Regions from separate parts of the Homo sapiens genome. Here regions 1 and 2 are each linked to region 3. Evidence: promoter capture Hi-C in human tissues and cell types (Jung and others, 2019). All regions are on one chromosome and are shown on one strand. The core of a region is centred on a gene start or on the middle of the fragment in contact, and the rest is flanking DNA. Distances in the headings are between cores, read along the strand shown.

Region 1 (3,799 bases), core at 1,177-3,676, 1.2 Mb after region 3:
TGTCTTATGATCTTTGCTTTAGCTGTTCTGGTTGCCTGGAAAGCTCTTCCCCCCAAGGATCTTTTGGCTCACTGTCTCACCTCCTTCATGTCTGCCTAAATGCCCTGTGTCAGTGAGTCCTTTCCAGATGACTATTTTTAAAATTGTGATTCTCCACCTGCTTCCCAGTGCTGATCCCTCAATGCTCTTTACTGTCATGTTTTTCCATATCACCCTCTCTCATACCGTGTAACTTATTTATTATGTTTATTGTTTATTGCCTGTTTTCCCTACTGAACTATAAGCACCATGGTGGCAGGAATCTTTGTTTTGTTCCCAGAGTCATCCCAGAATGTTATGTTCATAGCAGGCACAAAATAGTTTGTTGAATGGATGAATATGAAAATACTTTAGATTAATATATCCTTCTTTGCCTTAATTCACAGTAGAGTCACAACAGTATTTTGAAATAACTTTGGATTTGCGGAAGAGTTCCAAAGACAGTGTAGAATTCCTGTTTACCCTTCACCCAGTTTCTCCAAATGTTAACGTTTCACATAACCATGGTACATTCATCAAAACTAAGAAATTAACATTGGAATAATACTGTTAACTAAACTCCAGGCTTCATTTGGATTTCGTGAATTTTTCCACTAATACCCTTTTTCTGTTCCACTGTCCAATCCAGGATACCACATTGCATTTAGTTATGTCTCTTTAGTCTCCCCTAATCTCTGCAGAGACTACTTCTTAAAGGATTCTTGTGGATTATTTGCTCAAGTGAATATTTCTTTTATTTATTTATGCCTCAGCATTCACATCGTGAATATTTCTAAAGGAAGGAAAGGTTGTAAAACTTAGGAGCACTAGAATATATAGCTACAGGGCATTGTTGAACTTTAGACAAGATCATAGGATTTGACATGTTTTCTGGGTCAAATGCAGAGTTTATCTAGCGTCTTCTCTTCTGCCATCAGAGCTTCCCAATCCTTTCATGTTGTCATTTGAAGAGGTGAATCCTAGCCTAACCATTAACTGTTTGTGACATTTTAATGGGTAAATGTAAATATTTCTGTAGTAAAGACGTGTTAGGTACCTACCCTGTGTAATGAACTGTATCGAATTCCTCCTTGTGAAGGGGGATGTAAAGAAATTTGAGTAAGTTTTTTACTAGCCTGGGTTCTAATATAGGTAATATATAACTAACAGACTGTAATAACAACTGGTTTGACAGCACAGAGGAAATTATTAATGTTAACTGGGTGAGGTGAGAAATAGGGAGAAGATCACATTTAAACTTGCCCTTAAAGTATTAATAGAATTTTTTAAAAAATTTATTCGAGACAGGGTTTCACTTCCACTGCTCAGATTGGAGTGCAATGGTGCAATCTCAGCTCACTGCAGCCTCTGCCTCCTGGGCTTAAGCAATTCTCCCACCTCAGCCTCTGGAGTAGCTGGGACCACAGGCACTTGCTACCACACCTGGCCAATTTTTATATTTTTCTGTAGAGAAGGGGTTTCTCCATGCTGCCCAGGCTGGTCATGAGCTCCTCAGCTCAAGCCAATCCACCCATCTCAGCCTCCCAAAGTGCTGGGATTATAGTGTGAGCCACCGTGCCTGACCTCATAGAATTTTTTTAAATGGCTTTATTGAGATATTATTAACGTATACATATCAAATGCACCATTTAAAGCAAACAATTCAATTGCTATGCATATATTCACAGAGTTGTGCAACCATTCCACAATAAATGTTAGAACATCTTCATCAGCCACAAAAGAAACCCCATACCTGTGTTCACTCCCCATTCTCCCCTTCACTCAGCTCCTGGCAACACATATTCTTTATATGTCTGTAAATTTGCCTATTCTGGTATTTCATATAAATAGAATTGTACAGTATGTGTCTGACATCTTTCACTTTGCATATTTTCAAGATTCATCCACATTGTAGCACTCATCAGTACTACATTCCTATTTATGGCCAGATATTCTATTTTATAGAAGTATATTTTAGTTTTTCATTCATCAGTTGATGGAAATTTAGGTTGTTTCTACTTTTGGGCTATTATGAATAATGCTGCTATGAACATTCAGATTTTTGCATGGACAGACATGTTTTTATTAATGTTGGGTATATACTATGTTTAACCACTTGAAGAATTAGCAGACTTTTTCAAAGCAGTTATTATTTTACATTTCCACCAGCAATGGATGAGGGTTCCAATTTCTTTACATCTAAGCCAACATGTGTTAATGTCTGTCTTTTCTATTTTGGTCATGCAAGTGGGTGTGAAGTGGTATCTCATTGTGGTTTCGATTTGTATTTCCCTAATGACTAATGATGTTGCATCTTTTCATGTGCCTATTGGTCATTTGTGTATGTTCTCATGAGGTGTATCATTTTAGTAGATGAAGAAAGGGGAATGGAAGGGAGCAAGAGAACAGGGACAAAGGCCTGAGAAATGGTGAGAGAATCAGTAAAAGAGAGTAGGGCTCTCAGATGATAGGAGTTAAGAGAGGACTATAGAAAACTGGGTCTCTAAGCTGATGTGTCAAGTCACACTGTCCTCTGCTTATCCTAAGCTTACCTTGCTCAAATTTCTTTTTTTTTCTTTTTCTTTGTTTTTGGTTTTTATTTTTTCTTAAATTTCAAGGATATTCCTTCTTTTGTAAATGTCACAGAGTATCATGGCTCTGTCGCCGAGGCTGGAGTGCAATGGTGCAGTCTCAGGTCACTGCAACCCCTGCCTTCCAGGTTCAAGCGATTCTCCTCCCTCAGCCTCCCAAGTAGCTGGGATTACAGGCACATGCCATCATGCCCGGCTAATTTTTGTATTTTTGGTAGAGATGGGGTTTCACCATGTTGGCCAGGCTGGTCTGGAACTCCTGACCTCAGGTGATTTGCCCACCTCAGCCTCCCAAAGTGCTGGGATTACAGGTGTGAGCCACCGTGCCCGTCCCAACCAGGCTTCTTAAATGAATTCTAAGATAGAAACAACAGGAGCTTCCAGGACTCTCTTAAGGGCTGAACCTAGGACTGTCACAGTGACATTTCTGCCATATTCTGCTGGTCACAAGGCAAGCCCAAATTCAAAAGGAGAGAAATAGACCTCTTAGAGTTTCCTAATAAAAGGTAATTTCATTAAAAATACAATTCATAAATTAGCCCTATGTTTACTACTGTCTTTTCAGCTCTTTTTTTATTCCATGCATTAATTGATTCGTCACCACTTGGATTGTGCCACCAATGTTTCTATGACATGATCTAAAAAAAAAAAAAAAAAAAAAAGGGCTCAGTAGTTTTCACTTAAAAGACAAAGAGGCCCACTGAGCTATTACAGATGTTAATTAGGATTCATTTACTTTAATATGGTAGAAAGAATGCTATGATACCACTTTAGTGATGAACAAAATAAGCTTAATCACATCCTAGGAGCTAAGTATTCTGACATTATAATCTCTTCTCTCAGAGTCCCATCACAGCAGTCTTAGGATTCAAGATCTATTCTTGGGAAACATTATAGAACCAGTGTGTCATGTACATACAAATGAGGGAAAATATAATGGCTTTGGTAATCCTGTAGTTATCTTTCTTGTCATATACTCTTTTTTTCATTTTTAAAAATTGGGGCAAAATTTATATAACATAAAGTTAACCATTCTGAAGTGTACAATTTAATGGCATTTAATACATTCACAGTGTTGTACGACTTTTTTTTTTTTGAGGAAAAGCATATTTTTAGGATAATGTCAAAACAGATTAATAAGATGCTAATAAGATGGCCAGACATTCACTCAGAAGTGTTTTTTGTTTTGT
Region 2 (4,172 bases), core at 820-3,319, 1.3 Mb after region 3:
AAAGTTAGCTAGGGGCCGGGCACGGTGGCTCATGCCTGTAATCCCAGCACTTTGGGAGGCCGAGGTGAGCAGATCACCTGAGGTCAGGAGTTCGAGACCATCCTGGTCAACATGGTGAAACCGCATCTCTACTAAAAATACAAAAAATAGCTGGCCGTGGTGGTGTGCAGTTGTAATCCCAGCTACTCAGGAGGCTGAGGCAGGAGAATCGCTTGAGCCCGGGAGGCAGAGGTTGCAGTGAGCCGAGATCATGCCATTGCACTCCAGCCTGGGCCACAAGAGCAAAACTCTGTCTCAAAAAAAAAAAAAAAAAGCTAGAGGTCGGACGCGGTGGCTTATGCCTGGAATCCCAACACTTTGGGAGGTTGAGGCCGGTGGATCACCTGAGTTCAGGAGTTCGAGACCAGCCTGGCCAATATGTCAAAACCCCTTCTCTACTAAAAGTACAAAAATTAGCTGGGCGAGGTGGCAGACGCCTGTAATCCCAGCTACTTGGGAGGCCGAGGCTGGAGAATCACTTGAATCCAGGAGGCAGAGGTTGCAGTGAGCCAAGAATGTGCCACTACACTCCAGCCTGAGCGACAAGAGTGAAACTCTAAATAAATAAAGTTAGCCAGGTGTGGTAGCGTGCACCTGTAGTCCCAACTGCTGGGGAGGCTGAGATGGGAGGATTGCTTGAGCCCCAGAGATCAGGGCTGCAGTGAACACTGATTGGGCTGCTGCACTTCAGACTGGGCGACAGAGCTACATCCTGTCTCTAGAAAACCAACAAACAAAAAACCAGAAATGTATGGCTGTGATGGACAAAAATGCTTATGTGCTTAAACCATCTGCCCCCTTTTTGTTTTGAGATAGGGTCTCGCTGTGTTGCCCAGGCTGGAGTGCAGTGGTGGGATCAGAGTTCACTGCATCCTTGACCTCCCTGGCTCAAGGGATCCCCCCTCCTCATCCTCCTGAGTAGCTGGGACTACAAGTGTGTACCACCAGACCTGGCTAATTATGTTTTTTATTTTGTATAGAGACAAGGTCTCACTTTGTTGCCCAGGCTGGTCATGAACTCCTGAGCGCAAGTGATCTGCCCACCTCAGCCTTCCAAGGTGCTAGGTAGGATTACAGACATGAGCCCCCGTGCCTGGCCCTGTCTGCACTTTTTTTTTTTTTTTTTTTTTTTTTTTGGAGATGGAGTTTCACTCCTGTTGCCCAGGCTGGAGTGCAATGGCACAATCTCGGCTCGCTGCAACCTCTGCCTCCCGGGTTCAAGCGATTCTCCTGCCTCAGCCTCCTGAGTAGCTGGGATTACAGGTGTGTGCCACCACACCTGGCTAATTTTTGTATTTTTAGTAGAGACGGGGTTTCACCGTGTTGGTCAGCCTGGTCTCAAGCTCCTGACCTTGTGATCCACCCACCTCGGCCTCCCAAAGTGCTAGGATTACAGGCCACCACATCCAGCCGTTTTCTTTTTTCTTTCTTTTTTTTTTCTGAGGCAGAGTCTCACTCTGTTGCCCAGGCTGGAATGCAGTGGTGCAATCTCAGCTCACTGCAACCTCTGCCTCCCGGGTTCAAGTGATTCTCCTGCCTGAGCTTCCCAAGTAGCTGGGATTTCAGGCGCCTGCCACCACACCCGGCTAATTTTTGTACTGTTAGTAGAGACGGGGTTTTGCCATGTTGGCAAAAAAAAAAAAGAAAAAAAAAGAAGGGAGGACATGCATAACATCTAACCTCTCGTGCTTCCACATTTGAGCAAAGGACAGTGATAGGGCAGTGACATCTAGTGGTCTGTCTGTGGAAGAGCCTCCCTGGGCTCCTCTTGCGTGTGAGTCACCTTAATAGCTTTCAAAGTTGTGGTTTATAGACTTCACGATATGTCCAGAGTGGAGGTTCCATTGTTTATTATTTGTGGTTTTTGCATATTGTTCTGTAAACTTGGGACAGGAAAGTTCTGAAATGCAGTGCTTTAAAGCATTGCCCAAGAAACTCAATACTGTCCAAGAAGTCATCCACCCCTCTTTTTATATAAAACCATATCAGTAATCATGTTCATTTCTATTCAATTTTGTTACAAAATTAATTTTTAAGAAAATTTAAGCAATGAAAACACAATATACACAGTCAGTGTTCACATCTTTAGGTATTCTCGTGCTAATGCTTGAGATTGTTCATACGTTTAATGTTGATATATGCATCATACATACATGATGATATACATGCTGTGAAAACCACTGCTACGAGTATTGAGACTTCTGGTTTGCAAACTAGATCTCATCTTTCTAGACTGAAAGGTTATGATCTCAACTTTTCGTATAAGTACATCTTGATAGCTCATAAAAAGCAAATTATCAATGAAAACCAACAAGAGTTCTTAATATATGTTTTGTTATAAGGAGAATTTTATTCCCGCTTTTTAATTAATTTCTGCATTTTTCTTTCAGTGATTCCGTATAGGTCAGTGATCATCCCAATCAAAAAGCTGAGCAATGCAATAATCACATCAAACCCTTGGATCTGTGTATCAGGAGAGCTGGGAGACACAGGAGTAATGCAGATTCCCAAAAACCTCCTCGAAATGACCTTTGAGGTAGGTTCAGCTAATACCTTTCCTAGAAGAATGTATCACGTGTAGTTTTACAGATGATTCTGTCTGGCTTTTTCATTTTTCCTTGAATCAAATAAAATAGAGGAACACTCAAAGCGTGCAGGATCATTTTTGTGATTATATGTCTAAAGTTGTCTTAAGCAGCTTATATACTAATTTGTTTTGCATTTTCATTGTTAAGCTCTATTTTTCACTTGTAATGATGTGCTTTGGGGCTTTCTAGGTCTTCTCCTACTATTTTCAGGGTCTAGCACAGATTCTAGCAAGCAGGAAATATTCAAATAAATGTTTTCCCCGCGGTGGTTCTCCTCCCTACTGTAAAATGTTTTCTGCCCAAACCTGGTCATCCTTTGGCAAAAGGACAGGAGAGCTGATATTCATGCTTATGGATTTTTTTTTTTTTTTTTTTGAGACGGAATCTTGCTCTTTCGCCCAGGCTGTGCAGTGGTGTGATCTTCACTCGTTGCAACCTCCACCTCCTGGGTTCAAGCATCTGCTTACTGGTTTTAGACCACATGGTGACATTTATAGAATGATTCTATAAAAATGCCTTTTGGCCAGGCGCAGTGACTCATGCCTATAATCTCAACACTTTGGGAGACCAAGGTGAGCAGATTGCTTGAGCCCAGGAGTTTGAGACGACCAGCCTGGGCAACATGGTGAGACTCCATCTCTACAAAAAATACAAAAATTAGCTGGGCATGGTGGCATGCACCTGTAGTCTGGGTACTTGCAAGGCTGAGGTCACTTGAGCCCAGGAGACAGAGGTTGCAGTGAGCCAGGATTGTGCCACTGCACTCCAGCCTGGGTGACAGAGTGAGACTGTGTCTCAAAAAACAAAACAAAACAAACAGCCACCTTTTAATATTGTAGTCAATTTTCAGTCTTACTTGGTGAAATAGTTCCATGGGGTTAAGCCTGTACACAGGTTGATCTTGGTGGAGGAAGAGGACAAATAATTGTTGTGTTTGAGGAAGGAAATGGTACGAACTGAATGTCCCATTCTCATGTTCCTTGGGGTCTCGAAATAGCAGTTTCCACTTAGAGTCATGATGCCCTCCCGCCCCCAGGAGCCCAGTTTGGCCTTATCCATGCAGTAGACTCAAAGCCACCTGTATATAAAATATTAAAACCCTTGGCTTTTCTTCATCTAACAATAATGAAAGTACATTAAAACCCCCATCATTGCCATTTCTAAGCTGTCTCTCTCATGTCTACCTACTTCTTTCCATCTCTGCTGCACAACTAATTCAAGATGCCATCATCCCTAAGTTAGAGCATGGTGATGCCTTCTCACTGAGATACAAAGAATAAAGTGCTTTAAGAACTCGTAGCTCTGGCCGGGCCAGTGGCTCACGCCTGTAATCCCAGCACTTTGGGAGGCCGAGGCAGGCGGATCACCTGAGGTCGGGAGTCTGAGGCCAGCCTGACCAAAATGAAGAAACCCCCTCTCTACTAAAAACACAAAAATTAGCCGGGCATGGTGGCACATGCCTGTAATCCCAGCTTCTCGGGAGGCTGAGGCAGGAGAATCGCTTGAATCCGGGAGGCGGAGGTTGTGGTGAGCGGAGATTGCACC
Region 3 (3,852 bases), core at 615-3,114:
CTGTCAGTACTAGGATGGTTTTTGCACATGTTAATGGCTTTCAGAAGGATGGGATCTTTACTTTTCTCTCCTGCCACTCTGTATTTTGCCAACAGGTTTACTGACCAAAATAAACTCTATTTTGTGTAAAAAGAAAAAAACAACTTATTGATTTTAAACTATTTATGCTGACACACTATATCCCTAATTCTTTTACTTCCTCATGCTTAAAAAGCACTGAGACTCTCTTTTAAAAGTATGTGGAAAGTTTCTAGTGTGCAGCTAGAAGACACTTCTGAATCACTTACTATCAAAGACTTAATTTATATTATCTCTAACTTTTTACAAAAACAGGTTAGTTTTGATGATAAAAGTCCCAGTGTTTTAAAACATTGTGGTTAGAGTGAGCAATATTTACTCAAAATATTTACAGAGCACTTACTATATGTCCCAGACTGAACAAAATTATGTTCAATAAAAAATAATCCTCGTAATTTGTTTGATGCTTCTGAGTCTCCAAACATTACAAATATTGTTACAAATACTAGAATACGTAGGCAAGATTGAGCAGAATCTTTCCCAATCCTATCGCAGACCAAGGAAATGTGTTTCTAAAACAATTTCTATTGCTTCAACTATTTAAAAGCCAAAAAAACAAACAAACAAACAAACGAGTACAGGGTGTCTATAGTTTCCAGTGTTTGGATAGCCACTAATACTTTGAACAGTAAGTTCCTTCTGATAGCACTTATACCCTATACTATGTACCTCCTGGAAAATGATGGGGAAACCGCTCCTTCTCAATAGAAAAGATACTATTAAGAAATGAAAGCACTTAATATCAATATACTAATTTCTAAAATCCGTTTCTCTGAACTCTAATCGAAGTAGCAGAGAAAAGGAAAATTATACTTCTCCTCTGTCACTCTAGAAATAACAGTTATTTTGCCAACATTTCTGCATTCAAAAAAAAATGAGTTAGCTATGAGAAGACCAGAGAAACTGATGCCCAATTTAGGTCACGATCACAAAACTGTGGAAGACAAAAAGCACAGCCTACGCAGAAAAATCGGATATTCCTTCCCAACACCCGCAGAACTCTAGATACACGTTTTGTTTTTCTTTTTTTAAAATGCTGCTTCGGCGTTCTCGAAACCTGGTGGAATTATACTGCAGGAAAACACTGGCGCTCACGCACCGTAGCGTCTCTCAGCCTCAACAGAGCGATTCCAAAACTAACTCCGCAGTCCCTGGGCAAGGCAAGGAGGGAAATAAAACACCCGTCTCACGAAAGCCAACAGTGATGGGAACAGCCAGCCCACCGAGCCCAGCGAGACCCGAGTGCCCCGCGCGTCCCCCAGGTGCCCTTGGAGGCAGCGGCACGCGGACGAGGCCGCGCCCGGTCCCAGCGGACTCCAGTTCCGCCCGCCGGCCCCATCCTTCCCTCTCCTGTCCCCGGGACCCGCCGGGCTAGCCAGGCCCGCCGCGCCGGCTCCGCCCCTGGCCGGGCCCCGGATTCTCCGCCTTGATGCAACGCTGCCCCGGGAGGGCGGGTGCGGCAGAGCCCGGAGAGCCCTGGGGCCCCCAGCAAGGCCCTCCTCCCACAGGCCCCAAAGGCTGGCGCGGGAGTGGGCGCTGGCGCGGGAGTGGGCACTGCCGCAGCACCGACCAGGCCTGCGGCCGGGGTCTGGCCCGAGCGAACGCCGCCTGCTGCTCTCACCTGCGTTCCCACTACGACGATTTGAGGCAGCTGGATGATGTCGGCGCCCACCGTGTTGAAGACGTCCTGGAGCTTGTTTATGACAGGAATTAGCGCCTCCATGACTCTGAAAACACGGGGCCCCAGTGCCCGCCGGCCACGGCAATGAATGGGGCCGGGGCCCACAGTTCGCCTCCTTCCTCCTCTCCTCCGCCCTCTCCTCGGAAGCCGGCACCCATTGGACCGGGCCCGCCGGCTACCTGCCCCCTCCCGGCAGGCCATGCGCTGCGAGGGAGGTGGAGAGGAGCAAGGCCTGCTGGGAGTTGTAGTTCTGGAGCGGAGGAACGCTACTCCCCACAGCTTCCAGGAGGCTGCGCGGCACCGGTGGGCCCTAGCCTGGGACTGGGATGCTGCGCAGGCTCTAGTCAAAGGCTAGGAGCAGGCCGGGAGCGCAGGAGGAAGGCCGTAAATTTATGCCTGTCCTCAAGGCACGATGGATGTGACAGTGCTGGGTGTGAATATGTGTTAAAGGCGCAATGGTGTGTCTCTTAATTATCCAGTGTCACTTCCTTTTATTTATTTTTTATTTATTTATTTTTTTTTTTTTTTTGAGACGGAGTCTCACTCTGTCGCCCAGGCTGGAGTGCAGTGGCGCGATCTCGGCCCACTGCAAATTCCGCCTCCCGGGTTCACGCCATTCTCCTGCCTCAGCCTTCGGAGTAGCTGGGACTACAGGCACCCACCACTACGCCCGGCTAATTTTTTGTATTTTTAGTAGAGACGGGGTTTCACTGTGTTTTCCAGGATGGTCTCGATCTCCGGACCTAGTGATCCACCCGCCTCGGCCTCCCAAAGTGTTGGGATTACAGGCGTGAGCAGTGTGACTTCCTTATGAAGACACTTTCTCTAGAAGGACGGGTTGGAAAGGCTTAAAGAAAAGCTTATGGCCGCAAACAACCAAACTGGGTGCAAAAAAATCTGCACGCTGATACGAGAATGTGTGGGGTGTTATTTTGCAAAAATACAAAAACCAGCCCAGGTTAGAATACGCGGGTTCTCCAGGGGTTTTGTAAACAAACAAACAAACAAACAAAATGTGTGTTCAGGACCGAGCGCGGTGTAATCCCAGCACTTTAGGAAGCAGAAGCAGGAGGATCGCTTGAGCTGGGAGTTCGAGACCAGCCTGGTCAACATAGTGAGACCTCATCTCTACCAAATAAATAAATAAATAAATAAAAAAGCAGGGGTCGGAGCAGCGGGGGGCGGTGTTCATGAAAAAAATCTTAGAGTATTGGAGTTTTACAGGGGAAGAGCTGGGCATTTATTATCAATATTATGTATAAACCTTTATTTGCTGTAGCCTGATTCCTGGCAAAGTAGACATCTGATAACTGCCTTACTCACTCTTTGCTCATACCGTTCTTTTTTTTTTTTGAGACAGAGTCTGACTCTGTCGCCCAGGCTGGAATGCAGTGGCGCAATCTCGGCTCACTGCAGCCTCCTCCTCCCAGGCTGAAGTGATTCTCCTGCCTCAGCCCCCCAAGTAGCTGTTATTACAGGCACCCGCCACCACCCTGGGAAAATTTTTGTATTTTTAGTAGAGACGGGTGGGGGGCGGGGTTTCACCATGTTAGCCAGGCTGGTCTCGAACTCCTGACCTCAAGTGATCCGCCCATCTTGGCCTCCCACAGTCCTGGGATTACAGGCCTGAGCCACCATGCCCGGCCCATACTGTTATATTTCTAAATGTTGTTTTTCTTTTTAGACAGATAGTATCCCTCCTCTACTCCAAACCTCCAAAGGTAAAAGTAAACCTCAAAGTAAAAAGGTGACATTTGAGTAAAGAATTAAAGCAGGTGAGGAGAGGCCAGGCACCGTGGCTCACGCCTGTAATTCCAGCACTTTGGGAGGCCAAGGCAGGCGGATCACTTGAGGTCAGGAGTTCAAGACCAGCCTGACCAACATGGAGAAACCCCGTCTCTACTAAAAATACAAAAATTAACCGGGCGTGGTGGTGCATTCCTGTAATCCCAGCTACTCAGGAGGCTGAGGCAGGAGACGGGCAGATCACTTGAGGTCAGGAGTTCAAGGCCAGCCTGGGCAACACGGCAAAACCCAGTCTCTACAAAAAATACAAAAAAATTAGCTTGCCTGTCGTGGTGGTGCATACCTGT

Evidence for each region. Contacts are between HindIII fragments. The study calls those that stand out against the background at their distance.
Region 1: a fragment that was not itself captured here is called in contact with the fragment with the promoter of DNM1L in region 3 in 1 of the 25 tissues and cell types used here (aorta).
Region 2: a contact is called between a fragment that was not itself captured here and the fragment with the promoter of DNM1L in region 3, in 1 of the 25 tissues and cell types used here (lymphoblastoid cells).

What each region holds. Positions count from the first base shown.
Region 1 is chr12:31,523,514-31,527,312 of GRCh38, reverse strand. All of the region lies in intron 1 of DENND5B (DENN domain containing 5B), which reads left to right. Among named protein-coding and RNA genes, the nearest start is that of DENND5B-AS1, 65 kb to the left of the region's middle. The HindIII fragment of the contact is 5,763 bases long and covers 1-3,799 here.
Region 2 is chr12:31,400,901-31,405,072 of GRCh38, reverse strand. It overlaps DENND5B (DENN domain containing 5B), which reads left to right. Exons shown (of 21, transcript NM_144973.4): 15 at 2,430-2,575. Among named protein-coding and RNA genes, the nearest start is that of LINC02387, 34 kb to the right of the region's middle. The HindIII fragment of the contact is 8,206 bases long and covers 1-4,172 here.
Region 3 is chr12:32,677,313-32,681,164 of GRCh38, reverse strand. It overlaps DNM1L (dynamin 1 like), which reads right to left and starts at 1,864. Exons shown (of 20, transcript NM_012062.5): 1 at 1,700-1,864. The coding sequence starts at 1,801. RefSeq lists a silencer at 1,307-1,716. The HindIII fragment of the contact is 15,512 bases long and covers 1-3,257 here.